Linked DNA regions of Homo sapiens: all the other regions are linked to region 2. Evidence: promoter capture Hi-C in human tissues and cell types (Jung and others, 2019). All regions are on one chromosome and are shown on one strand. The core of a region is centred on a gene start or on the middle of the fragment in contact, and the rest is flanking DNA. Distances in the headings are between cores, read along the strand shown.

Evidence for each region. Contacts are between HindIII fragments. The study calls those that stand out against the background at their distance.
Region 1: a fragment that was not itself captured here is called in contact with the fragment with the promoter of PI16 in region 2 in 15 of the 25 tissues and cell types used here (H1 embryonic stem cells, IMR-90 fibroblasts, aorta and 12 more).
Region 3: a contact is called between a fragment that was not itself captured here and the fragment with the promoter of PI16 in region 2, in 1 of the 25 tissues and cell types used here (spleen).

What each region holds. Positions count from the first base shown.
Region 1 is chr6:36,904,601-36,908,003 of GRCh38, forward strand. All of the region lies in intron 4 of C6orf89 (chromosome 6 open reading frame 89), which reads left to right. Among named protein-coding and RNA genes, the nearest start is that of C6orf89, 20 kb to the left of the region's middle. The HindIII fragment of the contact is 3,401 bases long and covers 1-3,268 here.
Region 2 is chr6:36,952,930-36,956,573 of GRCh38, forward strand. PI16 (peptidase inhibitor 16) reads left to right here and starts at 1,809. Exons shown (of 7, transcript NM_153370.3): 1 at 1,809-2,002. The coding sequence starts at 1,832. The HindIII fragment of the contact is 39,732 bases long and covers 1-3,644 here.
Region 3 is chr6:37,016,055-37,019,620 of GRCh38, forward strand. All of the region lies in intron 9 of FGD2 (FYVE, RhoGEF and PH domain containing 2), which reads left to right. Among named protein-coding and RNA genes, the nearest start is that of FGD2, 12 kb to the left of the region's middle. The HindIII fragment of the contact is 7,463 bases long and covers 1-3,566 here.

The sequences.
Region 1 (3,403 bases), core at 318-2,817, 49 kb before region 2:
GAATTAAGTGCAACTTAATCTGGGCCTGTAAGAGGGCAGGAAAAGTAAAAATATATCATTTTTTAATGTCCTGGTATCAAAAAACAACTACCTTCAGGTTAGGATTAGTTGGCCATACATTTAAAGTAAATGCAAGGGGAGAATGGTGTGACAGATTCCCGAAAGGAAACCCCATATGGTTTCCTGAAGTGCTGGCCTGTCTCACACTCCCAGGGTCATCTGGTGCTCCTTGCAGTGGCACCTCGGGAATGATGGAGGGCAGCTGCAGCCTTGGTGATGTACAAGAGGCACCACCACCAATGACTGGAAGTTTCCCCTGACCCCACCCAGGGAACAAAAAGGTGACAGAGGTGGGGTTCTTTTTCTAGATTTCAGCCTTAGATAGGAAATCCTGCCCCTAAATGCTCTCAATAAGAAGAATGAAGTGACTTTGCAGCGAGTCATGGAAACATCCCGCTCTGCAGCAAAAAATAAGTAAATAAACTGACAGTTGTTTATTACTTACCAGATGCCAGACCCTGTTCAGGGGGCTTTCCATATATCGGCTTATTTAATCTTGACAACATCCCTATAGGGTAGCTTCAGGTTTTATGCCCATTTTACAGATGAGGACACTGAGGCACAGTATGGTTAGGTCACTTGCTCAAGGTCCCAGGTCTGGTCACGGAGCCATGATTTGAACCCAGGCAGCCAGTCTTCAGAGTCTGAGCCCTTCGCCTCTGATGTGAGTAGTCTGTAGCTGTGCAGTAGACCTGAAGAGTCTAGCTTTAAGTCTGATGTTGGAGTTCTACCACTGTCTCTCTCGGATCATCAGTTACTTTCTCTTAACTCCCTAGTCCCTGAAGAGACAATATTCTTTCTGGCTGTTCCAAAGATAAGTGGTCTTCCAAGCTTCTGACCCTTTAGAATTTTCCCGACCTGGTGTTGTCTTAGACATTCAGCCCAGTTCATCCTCCCTAGTCTGCACCCTGACATTCAGCCCAGTTCATCCTCCCTAGTCTGCACCCTTATGGATAATATTTGACTGACTTAATCCTTCCTCTTACTGACCCAGAGTTTTCTCTTTACATTCACATTCTTACTGCTTTTCTCCCCTCCTGGCTTCATATCTTTATAGTCACTTTACTCCTGCCGGCCATCCCCTTGGTTTTTACCATTTCCATGGAATCATTGAGTCTTAAAGCCAGAAAAGAATTTTAGAGTTAATCTAGTACATACCCCATTTTATAAAAGAGGTAACTGAGGCCAGGAGAGGTAAAGGAGCTTGCTTACCCAGCTAAAAGTGGCAAAATCACACTTGAACCCTAGTTTCTTAACTCCCTCTAGCATTCTGTCCAAGATATCACACTTACAGCCTGCCATCTCTGCCCTCAGTCAAGCCAGGCGCTAGCATGTTCAGCCAATTATTTTTTTTACTTTGGTCATTTTCTGGCCAACTTAAAAATAACATATTCATTTCTACTGAGGAAGCCTGGGATAGTTCTCACATACAGTGAAAAGGCACACATTTGGAACTCGATGCATCCCGTAACCTTCAAAGGAAGGATGAAGTAGATCCAGCAACATCAAGAAGTTTTGGAAATAGCAAATCATTTATTGGCCTCAAACTAAGAATCTAGTAAGACTTAGAGAGTCCAGATCTGTGCTCAAAGATGAACTGCTTAGACCGCAAGGAAAACCTTCCTCTTTTATTTGCAAAATAAGCTTACCTTCTGTGATAATAACAGCTCTGTCAAGCACTTACTGTATACCAGGTACTGTGCCGTGCAGTTTATTTCTCAGTCTTCACAGCAGTCACATAAGGTAGATACTGTTTTTATGTTCATTTCAAAGATGAGGAAACTGATGTGCAAGGGGATTGACTGACTTATCTGAAGTCTCACATTTATTTATTTTTAATTTTTTCTTTTGCTGTGTTTTTGATAATAAATTTTCACATTTAGAAACAAATTTTTGTACAAGTGAGAACTCATGAAAATAGACTTTCTCTGTGGTTTGGAGTGGTTCAAATGCATTGCTTCCTGGAGGCAAGGCTGTTGGTGAAATGATTTCTTGGGCTCTTTCCCTCTACGGTGTGTGAAAATGGCTCTGGGCATGGTGCCACACATGCAGGGACCTGGCAGAAGCCTCCTTCATTGTCAAGGCTTCACCCCTGCCTCATGCCCGGGGTACTAGAAGAGGTGCTATGCACAAACAAGCTTCTGGAGAGCAGCCTGATTAAATATTGAGCACACACTAGTGAAAGTCATGGGAACTTTGTCATGGGCTTTGCAGGGTTTTCTTGGCTATATTTATAATGCAAGAAATGATGAAGTTATATTTATTTAATCTTTATTTTGAGGTTTCTGTGAATCCAGATTGCTCATTTGATTTTTCTCCCCATGGACTTAATTCTATTGTTAAAGCTTCTGAAAAATCAGCCTTCCTGCCTGCCTTCCTGCCTTCCTCCCTCCTTCTTTTCCTCCTTCCATCCCTTCCTCCCTCTCCCCAACTTCATTCACTCATTCAGTAAATGTTTATTGAGACCCTGCTATATATGCCAGGCACTGTTCTCAACAAAGCAGTGAACAAAACAGACAAAACCACTGCTCTTGTAGAGCTAGTATTGGCTTTGTTCTTTTCTTTCTTCCCTATCCTTTTTATCCAGAGGGAGTTTTTTGTCCTGGAAAGAAATCTTTTGTTTTGTTTTGTTTTGTTTTGTTTTGTTTTGTTTTTGCCAGGTAAATAATCTATGTAACAGTACTCTCCCCACTCAGAATTCCAGGATATGTTATGGTTGTCTACAGAGAACCAGCCTAAGTGAGTTTTCTTGTAAATAACTCTCAGGCACCAGGAAGCTCCCTGATGGGTGAGACGCTGGCCCATCCATTTTTCTGCCCAGTGCCCAACTTGTAAAGAAGGGTGGATAGTTATGGTCTCTGCACGTTGACTTCAAGGCTGTGTTTTGTCTGAGAGACTGTTTTTGACATCTCCAACAGTGAAATCATTCCAAATCATAGTGAAAACTTGAAATACAAGTTATAAGCTTTATTGAACTTTTATATGTAGGATTTCTCTTCTCTGTCATACCTTTAAAAAATGTTTAAAATATCTGGTATGAGGGATATCTGGAGTAAAGAAGCCTTAGAAATTAAAAGTAGGAAGTTGCTATATAATTTACGCTGACTTTTCTGTCTGGTGCTTCAGGAAAAGTGGTTAGAAACAGGAGGGCTGGAAAGAAGTGAGATGCAGCATATTAGGTAGTCAAAAGCCGTAAACTAGGGTGGCATGGGCTCGGCTGGCTGTGTGCTGTTGGCTGTTTCCCAGGATGGAATTTTGTTCACTTTGTGGCATGATGGCTCCAGCCAGTTGTATAGAGAACACGTCAGACAAAACCTTTTCAGATGGACAGAGGCCAAGCTGG
Region 2 (3,644 bases), core at 559-3,058:
ATATAGGATGACTTTCCATTTATTTGTGTCTTCTTTCACTTTGTTTGTCAACACTTGTGATTTTCAGCGTACAAGTCTTTTGCTTCCTTGGTTAAGTTTATTGCTAAGGGCCAGGCGCAGTGGCTCACACCTGTAATCCCAGCACTTTGGGAGACCGAGGCGGGCGGATCACGAGGTCAAGAGATCAAGACCATTTGGCCAACATGGTGAAACCCCATCTCTACTAAAAATACAAAAATTTGCCGGGCATGGTAGCAGCTATGGTGGGCAGCATGGTGGGCAAGTAGTCCCAGCTACTTGGGAGGCTGAGGCAGGAGAATCACTTGAACCCAGGAGGCAGAGGTTGCAGTGAGCCAAGATCATGCCACTGCACTCCAGCCTGGGTGACAGAGCGAGACTCCATCTCAAAAAAAAAAAAAAAGTTTATTGGTAAGAATTTTATTCTTTTTATTCTTTTTCATTGCTTTTATAAATGAAATTGTTTTCTTAATTTCCTTTTTGGATTTTTCATTATTAGTGTATAGAAACAACTAATTTCTATGTGTTAATTTTGTATCCTGCAACTTTGCTGACTTTATTAATTCTAATAAGTGTGTGTGTGTGTGTATGTGTGTGTAATCCATCTTGGTTTTGTTTTTATTTTTACTTGGAGACTCAGGCAGGGACAGGTTTTCTTGTCATCTTCCAAAGCCTGTGGGTAGACTTTTTCTAGGTCCCTATTCATTGAAGAAGCAGGCTTCAAGGATCCCAGCTGTCCTCAAGAGTACTGGTTCCAGCTTCCTGCTTCATGAACCGGTCATGGCCCCTGCAAGGTCAAGGTCATTATAATGCCAGCACCTGACTGCTAAGGCTATTTCCCTTCCAATACCTTCCCCTCAGAGCTCCTGGTGCATCAGCTCATTCAACCTTCTGCTTTTCTGCTCTCTCTTGATTTAAGAAACAGACACATTATATTTCTACATAGTTAGAGCACAGGGGTCCCAGCATCCCACTTCCAAATGAGCATGTCAAGCACATGCATTCAGAGAGGATACCTGGAAGCCAAAATTTTGCCATAGTGAAAGGCCTTATTCCTGAATACAGCTAGAGTGGGGAAGACCTTGGCCTCTCCCCCCGCAGGCAAGAATGTTGCCTCCACAGGGGGCTGGTAGCCTGCTAAGGCCCAGGCCACATGAGTGGGTTGTCTACTGTTACTGAGGGCCTACTATGTGCCAGACACCATACTAGGTGCTTTACATACATTATATGTCATTGAATCTTCCCTCTAGTCCTGTGAGATAGGTACTATTATTGTCACTGATTCACTTGAGAAAGCTGCCAAAACACAGATAGCAAGGGGCAGAACCAGGATTCTGATTTAGGTTGGCTCAGCCTTTTATCAAATACATCTGGTCTTCCTCTGTCCTTTCAAAAGCCTATAGCTTCCTCATCTTGCCCACTCCTCTGTGGGTAGGGTCTGTGGTTTCCTTTCTCTTATCTATCTTCAACACACAGTGGGTGTGACCTGGGTGCAACCAGTCACAGCTCTGCAGAGGTTACTGTGATTTTGCCCCTGAAGGATCTGTCCACAACTTAGGAACTCACACAGCTTTTGGCCTGAGCCCCCGTTACCAAGAGAAAGGAGGTTTTTGCCAAGGACTCCAAGGGGAGTGCACTTGATGCTGGTCGGGACCCAAAGCGCCCAGCCCTCCCTGAGACATTGTGTGAGTCGGGCTGGGCCTCAAACACGGCCCCCACTGCCCCACCCCAGCCAGGGTGGTGCTTGTGTGGGAAGGACTTTAAATCCAGCTGCCAGACCCCTGGACGGGAGAAGGAGAGACGGCTGGCCACCATGCACGGCTCCTGCAGTTTCCTGATGCTTCTGCTGCCGCTACTGCTACTGCTGGTGGCCACCACAGGCCCCGTTGGAGCCCTCACAGATGAGGAGAAACGTTTGATGGTGGAGCTGCACAACCTCTACCGGGCCCAGGTATCCCCGACGGCCTCAGACATGCTGCACATGGTAAGTGTGGCCACGGCCCTTGCTGGCTGGGATGGAAGGGGTGCTGGCCAGGGTCTGTCACCAGGCTCTCTTACCCTGCTCCTCATGCTGAAGCTATTTCAGAATTCCTCTCCTTTTTCTGGTCAGTGACAGAGTCCCCGAGTCCCTGACATGGTATTACATTACTTTAAATGGCAAAAACCACAATTACTTTTGCACCCGCCTAATAAAATTCACAGGCCCCTATAAGCAGCCTCATAATACAGATAAGGAAAGTGAGGCTCAGAGGGATTTGTTGGGGTCACACAGCTGGTAGAGCCAGACCCAAAGCCCTGGCTTCCCACTCCAATGAGCTTTCCCCAGCACTTCCTCAAATGCATGTGCCCTCAGTGGGGGAACCCGGGAAGTTCTTAACACCTTTGTGAAAACGGTCTTTCACATGCCTGCCAAGGAGAGGACAAGAGGAAGCAGGGCAGCAGGATGGGCGTGGGCACGTGGAGTAGGAGGCAGGTGCTAAGGAGGTGGGTGACAGCAGGATCCAGAAGCAGAGAGGGCTCTGGATCACACAGTCCAAATTCTGTCTCGGTCACCTACAAGACCTATGATTCGAGGCAAGTCCTGTAACCTTGCCGATCCCGTGTCTCATCTGTAAAAGGCGGTCAGAATTAGAGCTACGTATATACCAGTGTGGATTGAATCTCACAGATATCATACTGAATGGGGGAGGAAATAAAATCTCTAAAAAATACACAGTAGGATCTCTTTACATGAAGTCTGAAAACATGTAAAAATACTATTTATGTCCTGGTGAAACACGCAGATGTAGTAAACATTACATGTACATGCACACAGGAGACAGAAGCCAGATTTAGGGTTGGTTACTTCTGTCAGGAAGAGCTATTTATGGTAGGGTGAGAGGCGGGCTGTCTATATGCAGAATTAAAGGAGATAAAGTGAGAAATTCACCCACTTCCTGCCCTCCCTGAGGGCTGAACTAGCTTGTCCCCTCCAGCCACCCTCAGGTGACTGGGGAGGTTGCTGGGCAGTGTTCAGGGACCCCTGGAGCTGGTGCCTGAGAGAACAGATGCACCTTGGGGAACATAACAGTGAGCCTGGGGCCCCAAACCTAAGTTCTAACCTCAGCCTAATGTGATCTGGCTGAAGTAACTCTGGGTGGACCCCTTTCCCTTCAAAGGCCTCTGTTTCCAGATGGAAACATGGGGCTGGCGATCCCTGCCCTGGGCGTCAGACAGGATGACACGTAAGAAAGATCTAGGAAGAGCTCTGCACACACCCAGCACTGCCGTTCACAGCTGTGCCAGCCTGCACATCGAGGAAAGGTGGACAACAAACCAGGCGTCACAGATGCAGCTCTGCCAACAGCTCCCTGATTGAGGCCTGTGACTCATTGTTGGACTTCAGTTTCCCCACCTGTAGATCCCTGATGCCCTACAGTCTTGCTGGCTGAGACTGGGGGCCACACAGGCTGGGAGCTGCTTCTCAGACAGAGGTGCGCCTTGGAGTGGGGCAACATTCTGGGAGGCAGTTGGGATACTGAGGGGATATGCTGCTGCCTAATGGGGAGTGACATGAGGAGGAGGAGATGAGGCTGGGGCTGGGATGCCAGGAAACATTCAGGACAAGACTCAGGTTCAACCTCAGC
Region 3 (3,566 bases), core at 593-3,092, 63 kb after region 2:
CACAGGTTTGGCCCTCCCTTCGCGGCAGTGCATGAGCCAGCTTGGCCTTTCTGTGCTTTCCCTACTGTTTATACCACTGCTTCAAAAACTTTCATGTGTGCGCGAATCCTCTGGGCATCTTGTAAAAATGCAGGTTCTGAATCAGGAGGTCTGGGTGGGGGGGTGCCTGAGATCCTGCATTTCTAACCAGCTCCCAGTTAAGATGGGCTGACAACTGACCCCACCTGCAGGATTGTGAGAATTAAATGAAATGAGACATATCCTGGGCAGTGTATGCTGATACTGTAGGAGCACAGAACACGTTTTGAGTAGGAAAGGTCTCCAGTGTCAGCTCAGCGGCTGGCTTGTGTGTGTCCCCATCTACCTCATCCAGAGATTATGGCAAATGAGCAGGGCCAGTAGTCCATGATGGAGCCCATGGGGGGACCACAAGATCCTCCTAACAGCCCCATGATGCAGGGGCTGTTAGAATCTTCTGGATTTTTTTTTTTTTTTTTGAGACCGAGTCTCACTCTGTTGCCCAGGCTGGAGTGCAACAGCAAAATCTCGGCTCACTGCAACCTCCACCTCCTGGGTTCGAGCAATTCTCCTGCCTCAGCCTCCCAAGTAGCTGGGACTGTAGGCGCGAGCCCCCATGCCCGGCCAATTTTTGTATTTTTGGTAGGAGAGATGGGGTTTCACCATGTTGCCCAGGCTGGTCTCAAACTCCTGACCTCAAGTGATTCACCTGGCTTGGCCTCCTAAAGTGCTGGGATTACAGGCATGAGCCACCACACCCAGCCTGTTTTTTATCTTTTAAAAATATTTTAATTTTACTACTTAAAAAATACAGATTATACACATTCTAAAGTCAAACAATATAAAAAATATATACAATGAAAGTCTCCGCCCGACTCTATCCCCTAGTTCCCCTTCCTGAAGGCAATCCTTGCTTCTTGTGAGGCCTTCCAGAGGTGGTCTTCGCCTAGCAAACCAATAACATATAATAGGATTGTTTCCTCATTTATGCAAGAAGCAGTGGTATACTCTACACATTTTTCTGCACTTTGCTTTTTTTTTTTTAACTAACTGCAAATGCTGGAGACTGAGGTGTCCCTGTACTTGAGAGCTTCCTCATCCTCCTGCCCAGCTGCATTGCGTCCCACTGTGCAGATGCACCGGAATTTCTTCAACCAGTCTTCTGCTGAGAGACACTTAGATTGTTTTCAGTTGTCAGCAGCTGCAAATGAGGCTGCAGTGAATAGCCTGGTACAGCCTGCCTGTGTGTGAATGTATCTGCAGTTAATCCCATTTTTAAACATGAGAAAACCAAGGCCCTAGAAAACCTTTCTAACTTAAATAACTTGCTTGAAGGTCATATCGCAAATGCTAGTTCGAGTGACCAAGCCAGGATTCAGATGCAGGTGTAACAAAGGCTGGCGCTTCTGCGTCTAACCACCACGCTCTGCTGTCGCCTATTAAGGCTTCAATCCAGAGGGTTCAAGACTATGGTGGAATTTCTGGCATCGTGGAGGACACAGCCAGAGAAGCTTCCTGACCACCCCTCTCTGCTGGCTCCTGAGTCCTGGTGTGTCCTGAGGGCTGGGACTGGAAGAAGCAGAGGTCTGGTCTGGCCCATCTTGTCACTCTCCTATTCAGCATCACCCCTACCCCCTTCAGCCCCAGAAGGGAGCTGCAGGCAGGAGTTGAACCAGAATGCTCTACCCTCTAGAGCCCCTGGGGCCTCCAGAGACCCCAGCAAAAGAGCCCCACCCCTGCTCCTGACTGGGGTTGCCTGGCATCTGGAGCAATCCAGGGCCTGGGGGTGGGGTGCAGCCTGGGAATGATGAAAGCTGATGAGGGAACATGGGTTCACAGCTCACCCCGACACCTGAGCTGACTGAAGTCTTTTAGGAGTGCAGCCCCGGCCCTGGCATCTAGCTTTCCATCCTGAAGGGGCCAGAATGTCACATAGACCAGGGCGTGTGCAGGCTTGTATGTCTGGAGTCCTTGGTGAGTGAGGCTGAGAAAGGCAGGTTTATAGAGAGCTACAGACAGAGAAATGGAGACGGGTGGCCCTGCCAAAGGACTGTCAGAGACCCAGGCATAGAAAAATAGAGATCGACAGATAGGAAGGCTAAGAAATATAGAAACCAAAACAGAGTCATAGAGAGAAAACAGAGAGAGCCGAGCCTGAGAGCATCAGATGCTTTGGGTGTGTGTTGAGAGCTCACCAGCCCTGTGTGTGCCGGGTCTCTGGAGTCTGCTAGTCTCGGCTAACATGTCTGATACTCCAGCAGCCGCACAGCACCCTCTCCTGGACGGCATGGGCTTGGCAAGTGCAGAGCTGTCCACTCACCCTACTTCTGTGCAGGAACCATTTTCTGAGTCTGTGATTTGGAGGCAAATCTTGCCTTTGACCATCATGATGGTTCCTATTGGCCTATGACTCCCTGGCCTCCTCCTTCCTAGGTGTCAGGGAGGCCTAGTTCACAGCAGCTGATTCTCTCCAAGGTCTGACTTGGTCTTAGTATTTTGCCATCCCCCACAGGGCCAGCCTGGGAAGAAGGAAGGGGTGTGGACACACATACCTAGGGGCTCCACGTACAGTTGTGCAGGTTGTACACTGCACAAGGATACCTCATCTAAGAGGATGTCTTCTGCAGCCAACTGCAGATTAGCAGACTATGATATATCATAGATGGTATATTTATAGTGAGAATTGTCCGGCAGATGGCAGTCAAATGTCTTGTTCCAACAATATCTAGGTATTATGCCAGTTTGCCAACAGATGTCAGTAAAGTGTTTTGAGGAAGGCTGTCCTTTTCTAATTACTACAAACGTACTGTATGGACTAGCAGGGGACTGAATTGACCTAGCCCTGGGGAAAGTGGTTGAGGCTCAGCTCAGCACAGTTCTGGAAACTCCTCTTGAAACCTGCTGGGGAGCTGGAAGCCTCTGTATGAACATCCCAGGGGCAGCCTGGACCCTCAGGTCAGGAGCCCCCAGTTCCCTTTTTTCTGTCAAAAGCATGATATTTCTTCCTGCTTCTGGACTGCAAACCTTGGATTTCTCCCTTCTTTTCCCTTTCCCCTCTCCCTGACCCAGTTAGAAACCTCTTCTGTCTCTCCAGTGCACCTGGGCAGGCCAGGACCATTTATGATGTTGCTTCCTAACTGGCCTTTGGGCTACAGGTTTGTCCCATTTGGCCCACATCCAGCCTGTCATCCCTTGCACACAAAGAGGTATTTGGCTCTTTCCCAAATACCTCTTTCCACATGACCGCCTCCTCATTGCCAAGGGCATCGAATCCAAATCACATCAGCCCCTTCTAAGGCAAAGACTGGGGAGTGAGGCTGCAGACTAGGCCTAACCTGAGGAAAGATGTGCTTGTACTCAGTGCTGTCTGGGTTATGGTGAGCTGCCCTGGAAGTGTGCAAAGGCCTGGCCACCACATGGGAGGCAGCAGAGGAGCTCAAGTGTTTGAGGAATTTAATGGCAACAAAGTTGCCCCACACAGAAGCTCTTGTGCTCTCAGCCTGTGTCTTAGGTTCTCTTTGCAAATCTCTCTCCACACCGTCTGAAGG